5 separate regions of the Homo sapiens genome follow, and all the other regions are linked to region 1. The links are contacts of gene promoters, found by promoter capture Hi-C in human tissues and cell types (Jung and others, 2019). All regions are on one chromosome and are shown on one strand. The core of a region is centred on a gene start or on the middle of the fragment in contact, and the rest is flanking DNA. Distances in the headings are between cores, read along the strand shown.

Region 1 (2,634 bases), core at 63-2,562:
TCCGTTGTCTTTCACTGGCACCTTTGTGGCCGCTCGTAGTCACTGACCTCACCTTGCTGGAAAGGTGGCTAAGAAAAGAGCAGTTTCTAATAACTCAAGGGAACTGCAGCGTTTCCATTCAGAACAAACAGCAGGACCCAGCTGGAGGGGTGCAGCTCTAAAGAAGTAAGACCCGCACCACAGCGGACAACTTCCAGAGGCTCTTCTCCAACACCGCCAAACACAGGCGGAAACACGGAGCCTGGACAGAAAGAGGGACGAGCAGAGAGATGGGCGCAGAGAGCAAGAGACAGGGGAGCCAGGAAGACCGGGAGCGAAAGCCTCTTGAGAGAGAGAGAGAGACCAAAAGATTGTGCGAAAGTGACAGAGGGAAGAGGATGAAGGGACAGAGGAGGGACACACTGGGAGAGCCAGAGCAGGCGGTGGGGAGAGGGAGACAGACGCACGGAAGGAAAGAGAGACCGGGGGGAGAGGCAAAGGATAGCAATAAGGAGAGGAAGGGAGAAAGGAAGAAAAGGGAGAGAATGAAAGACCCAGAACTTGAGAGAGAGGCATAGAGAGAGAGAAGCAGGAGAGAGAGGAGAAGAGACAGGCAACTGAAGCAGAGACGGAGCCCAGTCCAAGGCGCCGGGACCAGCCCGCTGCGCACTTTCCCCCACGGCAAGGCTGGGTCTCGGGAGGCGTCCGGGGCAGGTGGGTGCCTGCGGGTCCCGCCTGGGCTGGCCCTGGGCCCCCGCCCCGCCGGGCTCCCTCCCATTTCCCGGATTCCGCGACTGCCCTCAGCTCGCCCTCCCGCCCCATCCCTCCGCTCGCAGGTCCGACTCCCTGCCTTGGGGCGTCCCTACAGCCCGAAGCACGTGTCCCGCCCGCCGCCGCCGCTGCCCCGACTCCTCGCCTGCGCAGGCACGAGGCCTCGGGGTCCCGGCAGAGCCGCCCGCGCACAAAGCCGAGGCGGCCACCGCCTGACCCCCTCCCCGCCGCCGCCACCGCCCCACGGCCGCGCAGCCCGCCCTCGCTCTCGCCCTCTCCCTCGCGCGCTCCGTCCTGCCTAGGGCGACCGCCGCCCAGCTCCGCACCCAGCCGCTACCCGTCCCGCGCCGCCCCTCGCTCTGCCCGGCTCTCGCCGGCTCGGCCGCCTCCCGCGCGCTCGGGAACTCGGCCACCCGCAGGGGACGGGGCCCCGCCGCGCGCGCCTTACCCGCGGCTGCGCTCCCGGCTCCCGCGTCCTCAGCGCCGCGGTCTCCGCACTGCCCGGCGTCCCGCGAGGCCCCGCCGACTCCGCGCCCCGCGCCCGGCTGCGCCGTCAACTTCTGGCCGCCGCGGCCGCTCCGCCGCCGCCGCCGCCGCCACCGCGGGACTTTTTTTTTTTTTTTTTTTTTTTTTCCCTCTCGCTCCTCGGCTGCCTCTGGAATTTTTTTTTTTCACTTGCCCTCTCCAGCTCCCACTAGTGATTGGAGACTGAGAGCCAAGTACTTAGCGGAGGGATTACACTTCTCAACGCACTTGGAGCGGCCCCAGCGCCGCCGCCTGTGTGCGGAGTGCGGAGCCGACTTGGGGAGCGGCGGGGTGCGGGCCGGAGGCAGCCCGGGTACAGGGGTGCGCTTCCCAAGCCCCGTCCGCTGCTCAGAGCATCCCCAAGATTTCCCTCATGGGTCCTGTCCTGGTTGTTTAAGAAGGTTTCCAGAAAACCTCCTGGTTTGAAGAACAAAGATTCGTGGAATTATTGTACCTTGAGAGCTGGAAAGGGCTCGCAGAGATGATATAATGTCGTGGATTTCAACTTTTCGGGGCCATAGACACTTTTCAGAAATTGATAAAACGTTGACACACCTTGTAAAAAATGAACACATTAAAATTAAGCCTGCAGTTTGAGGTGGGGGTTTTAAGAATCTTGAAATATATACAGTTGAGCGTCCAAGGGAAATGAAATATTTCCCTTCTACATATTTTTTGAAACCGTTAAACGAAAACAACCACCAAAAAATTAAAAATAAAAAAATAAAACCCAAAAGAGAAAACCCATTCCATTTGTATTTGATGACAGTTTACAGTTAGTCGTGTTTCTTTTGGAAAAGTATGTAACGTCTTATACTTTGTGGTCTCCTTGCTAAGTCTTTAAGTGTTGAAACACTTTCTAAGTGGGTAAATATAAAGTAAGCTAGTTCACAGTCAGAAATTTGGGGAGAATAGTTAACCTCTTTAAAATCAGCCATTTTGCCAACTCTATTTCCCAGGGAGATATCTCGTGACTTCCAAATACTCTTTTCCTTTCAATACCTTTCAGCTTCCCACTCTCCAGCATTACTTATTTTCTCCTTCTGTAAAATTTTTTTCCTCCAAAATATTGACAAACAGTCTCTGGTCACCACCAAGTGTGTGATCTAAGTCATTTTTTTTTTTAACAGTTTTTCACCCTGAAGTAACTTTCTTCCAATTTTCTTCATATCTATTTCTATATTCAATTCTTAGCCTACTATTTTCTTTCAACTACTCCCTTTTCTTAAATTGTTTCTATTAAATCTTTTTTAAACATTAAATGTAATCTTTTTGCACTTATCAATAAAAAATTCATTTGTGTATCAATTTATTTTATGCAGCTTGCACTTAAAGCAGGCGGTGCCCCCAGTGTTTATT
Region 2 (2,634 bases), core at 49-2,548, 240 kb before region 1:
ACACTAAAGTAAAAATAATTAAATTAAGAAAACTATAAGTCACTCCAAATTGTTCATGAAGCTTTACACTTGTTCCTGATATATACAATATTTCATATATAATGTAAGTACTTTTATGTATGATGGGCAAATAAAATACAATTAAAGGCAAAATAAATTTTATTTTTATTGAATATCAGAGCTAAAAGAAACAGCTGCTATTTCACAACTACTTTTTTTAAACGTCAACTTCCTTCTCTTTCAACATTTCTATTTTGAGGAGCAACTTCTTCTTCTGCCTGAAATGGAATATCACCTTTCAGGTTTGAGAATTTTCAGACCATGATTTTCTATTATTTCCTTAAAACCCGAACTATCTCTGCCCCAGTAAATGAAATTTGAAGGTTTACTAGTAATACTGGGAGCAATTTCATTCTGCAATTCTCCCGGCTACATGAGGATGGACCTATTCTCTCCTGAAGCTCTCTCTGGGCCTTTTGGAAGGCATGACACTGTCTTTAGTTTGCTAGGGCATCACTTAATTTACCACAGCAGTCAACACGGCCACAGCAACTAGCTGGTTTTTTTGACAGACTTCACCAAATTAATTACATAAACAGCATTTTTGGAATATGTATCCTGAATTTTTATTTGCTAACCAATATCATTTTGACTCTTGTTACCCAAATAAACTTATGAGTTCAGCAAATATCTATTTTCATGGTTACACACACACACACACACACACACGCACAACACTGATTGGTCCTAGAAAAAGAAACAAAATAATTTTTTAATTATTATTACCAATATGTACCATCTACTTGAGAGGCTTTCCTTCAATCTAATGAATCAAAATTGTAAAATATTTTAAAGTGAAAGGGGTATAAAGAAAATTATGTTTAAAATAAGTATGATAAAGTTTTTGTTTACTTCAAATTCTGGGACACTTGTTATATGCTAGGTCTTGGGGAAGCATAAAAGAATTAAATTTAAAAATCTGGCCATAAATAGATTACAGTCTCAGGCAGAAACAAAAACATAAAACACTATATTACCAAGCTTTGCAAAGTACTGGGACAGAGATTTATACAGGAGGCCAAGTCACAGAGTCTGAGATTAGACCAGCAGGACTTTCTCCATTCAGGCTAGAAGGCAAAGATTGGGAAAAGGGTTTTCAAGATAGAACAGCATAAATGATACAAGAAAAAAGCAATGCAATGTGGATTGTTTTGAGAAATAGGAGATGTTGAATACTGCCAGCAAATAAAATGGAGAGAAAGGGGAATATTCTCATGGATGGGCAAGAGAGATACAGACAACAGCCCAAAAGGAACGGCAGAAGATTAATATAGAACAAAAGTAGAAGGTATATGAACAAGAGACTCATAGTAAAGCCTGGTCTTTATCTATAAGCAGTAGAAAGACAGGGATGGGAGGGTTTTAGATTAAAAGCAATGGGTTCATCAGGGTGGAAGATTGACCCTTCTAAAAGTAATGCAGCAGGCTGGGCGTGGTGGCTCACACCTGTAATCCCAGCACTTTGGGAGGCCGAGACAGGCAGATCACCTGAGCTCAGGAGTTTGAGACCAGCCTGACTAACATGGAGAAACCCTATATTTACTAAAAATACAAAATTAGCTGGGAATGGTGGCGCATGTCTGTAATTCCAGCTACTCGGGAGGCTAAGGCAGGAGAATCGCTTGAACCCAGGAGACGGAGGTTGCAGTGAGCTAAGATCGCGCCATTGCACTCCAGCCTGGGCAACAAGATTGAAATTCCATCTCAAAAAAAAAAAAAAAGGAGTAGTGTAGCAGCTGGACTACTAGTAGAACAAATATGACTCTAGGGCAGTGAGATCCATGAGGAGGCTAATATTAATATTTCAAGCTAAATTCATTCACATTGCTTCAATAGATACTTAACACATAATACAAAAGGTGCCATTTTCATTTTGTATAATATACCTGCATATAAAATATTATTTATAAATATGATAACCAATGTCAGGATGGACTACAGAGCCAAAAATAATACTGACAAGGCATTTCAAGTTTTAAAACACTCAACCAGTCTTCAAACAAAATACATCCTAATGTAGACATTATCAACCAGTGTCACAATTTTGTATTTCTTCTTGATTTAAAGGAAAACTTTCTTTAGTTTCTTCTTATTGTAGTTCTTTATTTGCTTGCCTTGTTTTCTGCCCAAATTTCAACAAGGTACTTCAGAAACAAGACACCAGAAGGAATAAAAACAAAACCAATAAAAAGGGGTAAGAAAGCAATTATCATGCTAGTATTTATGCAAAATATAAAGCAAAAAATAAAAGATACTGAATAAAAATCTGAAATTACAATCTTGATCATGAGATATTACTCAAAGGCAAAAGCAAATAAAAATTGATTGATGAACTTAGCCAGTTAGATTCTATAACTGGGAAATGCCCATTCTAGATCAATCATGGTTGTATTTTCAAAATAAAGATATTGTCAAAAATCTAAATCAAACCCACTAATAAAATGGAAATGGTAGGCAGAATTGGAAGAAGTACAAAGATTCACATGATAAAACAAGCATTAAATGAATGTTAAAATACAGTTTAAGCTATCAATTAGATTAGCCTTAAGGTATTTCTGAAGTAATAAAATTAAT
Region 3 (2,634 bases), core at 73-2,572, 210 kb before region 1:
CTGAATAAATGAGGCACCCCTGTCCTGAGTCCCTTGAAGGTGTCAAGAAAATACCCTGCTTCATTACCATAATAATTCTAATATTTAAATAATTTAAGGCCAGCATTATCTCTATTTTATGAATGGAGAAACTGAATAGCATAAAGTTACAAATCCAGAAACAGTTATATCCAGAGCTGAAACTTGCATAGGTCTGACTCTAAAGTTCGTACTCTTTCCACTGTCATGTTCACTGATAATTATATCCACTTATAAGACCAAAAAAAAAATGGAAGAAACCTAAGTGACCAATGATGAAATATTATGCAAATGTTTAAAGTAAAATTTAGAAACCTGAGATAAGTTCAAGGTAAAACATAAGAGTATTACAAAATCAAATTACAGAAACACATACAATATAATATTATGAACATGTATGGGTATGTACACCTAGGAAAAGTAATGAAAAAAAAATTAACCAAAATGTTATCTGTGGTTGTATCAAGTAATAGAACTAATGAATATTTCATTTTTCCCTTATAGTGTCTATGTTTTTCAAATGTATTAAAATGAGTATACATTTATTTAAAAGTCATAATAAAGTTATCTTTTTAAAGAGCAAATAAACAAGTTAGCTAATGTTACAGCTAGCAAGAGAAGAAATTGAACACAAATTATATATTTTAAGTAGATTTTATTCTCCCCAAAATACTCTGTAAAGAAGAGAAGAGTTCATGTTATCCAGTGAATTGATTATAGTTTTCCTTTACCGCATCATTTATTGTAGAAAAAATAAGCAGACTATTAAGAGGTAAATAAGAATTTTGTACATACTATAATTTGCAATGATACTATTAAGTTTGAATAATTAGTTCCTCTATTTCCTTTATTGATTCTCAGAACAAATTTATATCAAATGATCACTCAAACCATCAACATAAATACAATGTAATGTCAAAATTAAATGGCCTTGGAATCATTTAAGAGGCTCATCATTACTTTTAAATAAGATACTATACTTCTACAACTTTTATTTATAGCATCTTTGTCTTGAACATGAAAAATTTAAGGAGAGAAACTACCTATATTAGTTTAAAATTATAGGAGTATATAAGAAATAAACTGTCCAAACTTCCAATTTCATGGTCATAAACGTATTTAATGAGATATTTTACTGCTAATAAAATTTAGATTAATCTTGAAATTTATAGATGAAGATACTAGATGCTTAAAAAGCTCATATTTTATTTTAAAAATCTTAAATATTCTAGTAATATTAAATATTTAAAGGAGTAAGTCTATCAATAAATAAGCAGTAAGAGGAAAAAGAGTTATTAGATTTGATCTTTATGATGACAAGCTAAGATCAGGAAGAGAAGTAGAGAGTGAGCACTGCCTGCAATTGAGGCACCTCTGAATTAAATTAAAATATTGTATGTTTAACCATCACACTTTTATTGTAATATGAAACTTAGCACTACAATTAACTGACATGGGTGACAGATGATGAGACCGAACTATTTTTCCTTAAAGTGACAAGTAAAATAATAACATACCCTTAGTAGGTTTTATTTTTAGCAGTGATTAATTCAATTAATACATATGTTGTCAAATGCCAATGGGATACACTCTTTTCCAAGCAATAGACCTACTCATATTTTTTTCCACTCAAGTGAAACTTAACTCATCTAAAACACATCCATTACTAGAGGGAAAAAAGTTGTTTTTATTTATCGTATTTCATGGTCCAGTTCTCTTATTTCACAAGTACTGAAACTGAGTGCCAGTTTCCAAAACATTGAAACATAAGTAATTCATCAAATGTAAAAATCATTATTGATATTGCTGCACCACCATTTTAGGTAGCACTGAAAGGGAAAAAAGCTTCAATTGTTGTATGATGTCATTAGGACAAATCCCAAATTCAGTGACTGTAAAATGTATTAAGACTGTGTGTCTTAGGAGCAATTAAATAGTGGGTAGTTGATTTTAATGAATTTAAAGAGTTCATCCAAAAAAATGTAACTTAAAGGGCTATAAAAAAAATAGTGTTCAGTAGCAGGATGAAGCAACTATAGTCAACAATCATCGCATATTTCATAATAGCTGGAAGAGAAGATTTGGAATGTTCCCAAAACAAAGAAATGATAGGTGTTTCAGGTGATATATATCCCAATTACTGAGATTTAATCATTACACATTGTGTGATGCTATCAAAATATCACATATACCCCATAAATATGTACAACTTTTATGTACCCATAAAAATTAAAAATAAAAAAAACTTTAAAACAGAAATGAACAGGCCGGGTGTGGTGGTTCATGCCTGTAATCCCAGTACTTTGGGAGGCCAAGGCAGGCAGATTGCCTGAGGTCAGGAGTTCTTGACCAGTCTGACAACAGGGCGAAACCCTGTCTCTACTAAAAATACAAAAAGTAGCAGGGCATGGTGGCGCGCCTGTAGTCCCAGCTATTCGGGAGGCTGAGGCAGGAGAATAGCTTCAACCCACGAGGCAGAGGTTGCAGTGAGCCGAGATCGTGCCACCACACTCCAGCCTGGGTGACAGAGAGTGAAACTCCGAAAGAGAAAAAGAGAGAAAGAGAGAGAGAAAGAAGAGAAGAGAAGAGAAGAGAAGAGAAGAGAAGAGAAGAGAA
Region 4 (2,634 bases), core at 81-2,580, 130 kb before region 1:
CAGCAATAAGATGTAAGTGGAATGTATAGTGGGAAAGTGTTTAAGTTACCAAACAAGCTATTAAGTGTTTAATGTACCACACAAATACTAACCACTTACTATGTACAATGCACATATTAGGATATTGTGAGAAATATAAAGATAATATCTCAATAAAGCTATGAGAAGATATAGACAACAAAATTGCAACAATAGAAAAGGTTAAAAAACTGTTTTCCAATTACTATTTTCCAACTACATTTTAAAATAAATTAAGTTTTAGGGGCACATGCTGAACTAAAAAAAATGCAATGTTGGTCCTTTCCTTTAACCACTTCTGCTATGGACTGAATTGTGTCATCCCCAATTCATATTCCAAAGTCCTAACCCCCAATGTGATGGTACTCAGAAATGGAGCCTTTGGGAGGTAACTAGGTTTACATGAGATCATGAGGATGGGGCCCTCATGATGGGATTAGTGCCCTTACAAGAAGAGCCACCAGAGAGCATGCACTGTCTCTCTTCACCACGTAAGGACGCTGTAAGAGGGTGGCAGTCTGTAAGCTAGAAAGAGAGACCTCACCAGAATCCAACCATGTTAGCATCCTGATTTTAAACGTTCAGCTTCCAGAACTGTGGAAAAAAATAAACTTCTGTTGTTTAAGCCACCCACTCTAAAGTATTTCGTTACGGCAGCCCAAGAAGACTAGTACAACTTCTCTGATTGACTTTTATACTTTTACATTAGAATTATTCTAGGTCATAATTACACTCATGTAATTTACAGCCACAAATGTATTTTTATAATATTAAGAGGTTTGGAAGTGGAGTTAGTAAATAAATATCAATTCTTCAATTGCCAATTGTTCATAAAAGTGGGAAGAAGGAAAGAGAGAGAGAATTTTACATTTATTTAACAAGTAACTCAGAAATAAGCTTTGGGGGAGAGGGGGTTACCTCATTAGCAATAAGTGCAGACATGCAGACATTCCCCTACACAAAACCTCTTTCAGCAGCATCAGAAAGAGAATGCTTTTTGCATGTGTCACTTCTCAGGTCCAAGCCTCTAGCAGGCTTCTTGTTATATGCAATTAGCTCCACGCCAAGATTTAGTACATTTCATAATAAATCCCTTGACCACATTAACTGTAGGCTTGGCAAAGTTGGAAAGGCTCTATTCACGAAGACAGAAAACAAGCCACAGAACTTACCCCACAGCAAAACGCACTTGCTAGATGCCAACACACTACAAATTTCAACAGCCTGCCATGCCCTCCCTTCATTCCTCTCCCTCTATTTGGGGTAGAGGAGGGGTCAGAAAAATACAACCTGCCATGTGACTATGATTAAAGAGTATATAAGGGCAAAAAAAGCTACAGACAAATTTGGTGTGTTTACTTCTTCTTCCTCCTCCTCCTAAATCTTGTTACTAGCTTGTTCCTTTGACCTAACTCCCCAAACCACCCACCCAAAAAACCTAGAGTCACTTCACAGATGAGATCCAGAGTTTACCCTCATTTAAACAGTAACCATCTGTTGCCTGCAGGAAGACTGTGGCTCCTTCTCAGGTTTCCCTTTTTGGAACATGAAGGCTGTGGTATATTATGGCTATTCTGCATGGGAAAGTTCTCTGCAGGACAGCAGGAGCAATGAAAAAAGGAAGGAGGCACAGAACTAATGAGCCCTTCCGCTCATATCAAAACAAAGCACAACACCTTTTATTTGTTTTTGATAAACACCTTTTGAGAAAGAATTAAAACTACAGCAGTACAGAGAGAACATGCATGAGCTCTGGAGTTGTACAAACCCCAATTTCAATCTTAACTTGTTTTCACTTTGTCAATTAGAGCATCCGTTTCTTTATCTGAAAAACAGAGATACTACAGAGTTGACGCAGGGCCTAGAAATGTTTGGCTCAGAAAATGCTTATCATATACAAGATTAATTCTAGATATTTTATTTTGCAGTATTATTACTGGAAAAAATGTTAATCACAGGCAAATTACGATAAAAATATAGGAAGACAAAAAATAAAATATCACTATTAAAACTCCATTAAGTTCCCTTTTAGATAACACATTTGAAACATCGCCATTGTTAAAATTTACAATAAAAATTAATTAGGAGGCCTCTCTTGGATCCCCAGCAAGAGGCTCCTGGTACTGACATCCTATTCCTCTTTATTATAAATTTCTTTCTGGTTCTTTGAGGCTCCAGTATATATTTAAAATAAGAAAAAATAAGACTCTTAAAACCTGTATCTCATTTATAAAAACTATTGAAATTTTATATTATGTATTACAAATTTTAGAATGTTTTTATAGTGTCTTGCTTTTCCAGTGTAAGAAACAATGGTTTCCTTAGAGATATGATTTCCTTGGAGATATATCATTATGATATATCATGATATATTAGAAGTATATCATTAATAGCATTTCTAACAATAAAATTGATAAAATAATTTCCTACCATGTAAATAATCATACAACAAAATATCTGCAATTGGGACTAGCCTAGAAAAGTCAGGTTACTGGGTCACTTAGTTTATGGGTGCAAGCAAAAATTTACAGTCAGCCTTCCTTTGCCTCAATCCCAGCTTCATCACTTACCAGCTTTGGACCAAGGTACTATTTAATCTCTCTCTGCTTTAGTTTC
Region 5 (2,634 bases), core at 79-2,578, 130 kb after region 1:
GCAAAGAATATGTGCATTTTGTCTGTCAAGCTCCTTATGCTGAAAGCCTAAACAATAGTCTACTCTTCATAATCCAGGCATGAAATCATATCCAACAGAAATGGAGACAGTTAAGCCAAGATCTGGGATCAGAGGAAAGTACATTCTGGAGACGATTGTGCAATTTTTAAAAAATGAAATCAGTGATTAAAAGCAAATTGGACAGATTAAACTATTACCATTTCTCTAAGCAGTGGAGAATGCTGGTATGTTTGCTATAAAGCACTGGAACAGGTGCACCCAAGTCTAAGTATCAAATATTTCCACATCTTCAGGAGGCTAGCTTCTTCCATTAGCAACCAGCCTTTCAACTTTAAGAACGCAGATTAAACTGGATCTACAATATCTTAATTAAAGTGAGTGTGGGGACTTGGATTATGTTCATTTCTCTTTTTAATTTCTTATATCACACATAACCAAAATTCATGCCTTTTTCTCCTAGCTGATCTTATATAGAAAACTTCCATTTGGTCAGAGATACAAGTAAAAGCAACCCAGTATGTACCCTGAAGATAAAGATATGAGATCTTAACATATCTGGTTCTACCAGCATTCAATTAAGTCAACAAATTATTTACCACAATATACACACAGAATTTTCTTTCTTTCTTTATTTTTTTTTTTGAAACTGAGTCTCGCACAGTGCAGTGGCGCGATCTCGGCTCACTGTGACCTCCGCCCCCCAGGTTCAAGCAATCCTCCTGCCTCAGCCTCCCAGGTAGCTGGGACTACAGGCACACGCCACCACGCCCAGCTTATTTTTGTATTTTTAATAGAGATCGGGTTTCACCATGTTAGCCAGGATGGTCTCAATCTCCTGACCTAATGATCTGCCAGCCTTGGCTTCCCAAAGTGCTGGGATTACAGGCATGGGCCACTGTGCCTGGCCCAGAATCTTCTAAATCATCTTAATATCACTGTTCCATTTTCTACTTAGAGTGGGAAGACAAGTCTATGCTTTTATTGTAGGAGGCCAATGGGCTTCATTTTCTTAAAAAAAGGAAAAGAAATAAAAAAGAATAAAATTGAAATATTAAAAAAACAAAACAAAACTGAGACATAATGCATGACCTCAGGAATACTAAAGAGGATCAATGGTAAACTCATGCAGACTTTGTAAGCTTAGAATATATTTAAAATATTAAATTTGTACAATTTTGCTCATATTTGGATGAGAAAACCATAAGGACATACATTAAAATCATTTTATACTCATATTATGTCTAGAGTTCTGACATGTCTTACTTCCAAAGTCACACGAAAGCTACATGGGTTTGGCTTTTACCATTTTCCCACCAATTTTCAACTATTTATACAAATAAGAAAGCAGCCTAATTTCAGAAATGAAGGAGAAAGGTACCTACAGTTTAAGTTGACCACATAAATAGAGTTCTAATCATGTAGGGGAAAAAAAATGAAGCAGGAAAAAAAAAAAGAGATATTTTAAGATTTCTCAATGTCAATATCTACAACGTCTCTAATGATGAATACAAGTTATTGTAAAATTTAAAAATTGGGATACTCCTTAAATTTCTATTACTACCACTAATTCTCTAAGATATCTCTCAATTAAAGTCATTAGCTCTCCAAAATAAATGATACTTTATCATTTTTCAAAGTTATGTTTGAATTTAGCATCTTTTAAAAGCAGAGATGGTAGGTCAGCTATTTTATGGTGGAAGAAGCAGCACATCTAGCATAAAAACTAAATTTCAAGATACATAGGCTCCTAGTTCTGGGCTTTCTAGCTGTGATGTTAGAAATGTCATCATTCTGGGTCTTAAGTTACCTCATCTGTAAAACAGCAATAATAACTACCTCAAAGGGTGAGAGGATTCAATGAAGTAGTAAAAGTGTTTACTTATACTTCCTTGAATCTGTAAGAAATGCTTCATACATGTCAATTATTATTACACTCTGACATAAGATCTTACATAGTTAAAAAATAAAACATCCACTCATTCAACAACTACTTAGTACATACAACGTTTTAGATGTAAGAATTCTTCTGGTGTGGAAGATACATTTAAGGATAAGATATCTGCCCAGAAAGAGTTTATCTTCTTAAAGACACTACAGACAAGCAAATAGGCAATCACAGTATCTCAGGACTAGTGCTACCAAGGGTGCTGATGGCTGTCAATAAAGTCTGCAACTAACCATGCAGAATTATCAAGCATTGTTATTCTTATTCATGCGTTTGAAAACCAGTGTTAACAAAACTTTTTCTGTAAAGAGCCAGAGAATAAATATTTTAGGCTTTGTGGGCCTTACAGACTCTTGCAATATTCAACTCTGCCATTGTGGCATGAAATCAGCCATAAACAATACGTAAACAACCGTACCGTAGCTGTTTTCCAACAAAACTTCATTCACAAAAATCAGTGGTGGGCCAGATGTGACCAAGGAACACCATTTGCCAAACTTTGGTTTAAACCATATGCATCAATTAATAGAACAATTCTTTATGAAAAGCATATATGAACAAATGTAGATGTCTGCCTTATAAAAAGTTTAATATTTTAATCTCAGAAAGAGAAGAAAATGGGGAGAAAGAACAGCTTTCACAGATGAAGCCTTGCATCAGCACTGGAA

Evidence for each region. The method cuts DNA at HindIII sites, captures the fragments that hold promoters and counts their contacts. A contact is called where the count stands out against the background at its distance.
Region 2: a fragment that was not itself captured here is called in contact with the fragment with the promoter of BMPR1B in region 1 in 2 of the 25 tissues and cell types used here (dorsolateral prefrontal cortex and mesenchymal stem cells).
Region 3: a fragment that was not itself captured here is called in contact with the fragment with the promoter of BMPR1B in region 1 in 1 of the 25 tissues and cell types used here (mesendoderm cells).
Region 4: a contact is called between a fragment that was not itself captured here and the fragment with the promoter of BMPR1B in region 1, in 1 of the 25 tissues and cell types used here (mesendoderm cells).
Region 5: a contact is called between a fragment that was not itself captured here and the fragment with the promoter of BMPR1B in region 1, in 1 of the 25 tissues and cell types used here (mesenchymal stem cells).

Annotation. Positions count from the first base shown.
Region 1 is chr4:94,756,633-94,759,266 of GRCh38, reverse strand. It overlaps BMPR1B (bone morphogenetic protein receptor type 1B), which reads right to left and starts at 1,312. Exons shown (of 13, transcript NM_001203.3): 1 at 1,199-1,312. BMPR1B-DT (BMPR1B divergent transcript) reads left to right here and starts at 1,734. Exons shown (of 3, transcript NR_121610.1): 1 at 1,734-1,873. The HindIII fragment of the contact is 6,502 bases long and covers 1-2,634 here.
Region 2 is chr4:94,997,523-95,000,156 of GRCh38, reverse strand. The region is part of intron 3 of BMPR1B (bone morphogenetic protein receptor type 1B); the gene reads right to left. Among named protein-coding and RNA genes, the nearest start is that of BMPR1B, 240 kb to the right of the region's middle. The HindIII fragment of the contact is 3,089 bases long and covers 1-2,634 here.
Region 3 is chr4:94,970,262-94,972,895 of GRCh38, reverse strand. The region is part of intron 2 of BMPR1B (bone morphogenetic protein receptor type 1B); the gene reads right to left. Among named protein-coding and RNA genes, the nearest start is that of BMPR1B, 210 kb to the right of the region's middle. The HindIII fragment of the contact is 6,540 bases long and covers 1-2,634 here.
Region 4 is chr4:94,888,607-94,891,240 of GRCh38, reverse strand. The region is part of intron 2 of BMPR1B (bone morphogenetic protein receptor type 1B); the gene reads right to left. Among named protein-coding and RNA genes, the nearest start is that of BMPR1B, 130 kb to the right of the region's middle. The HindIII fragment of the contact is 3,317 bases long and covers 1-2,634 here.
Region 5 is chr4:94,627,363-94,629,996 of GRCh38, reverse strand. The region is part of intron 8 of PDLIM5 (PDZ and LIM domain 5); the gene reads right to left. Among named protein-coding and RNA genes, the nearest start is that of BMPR1B-DT, 130 kb to the left of the region's middle. The HindIII fragment of the contact is 4,743 bases long and covers 1-2,634 here.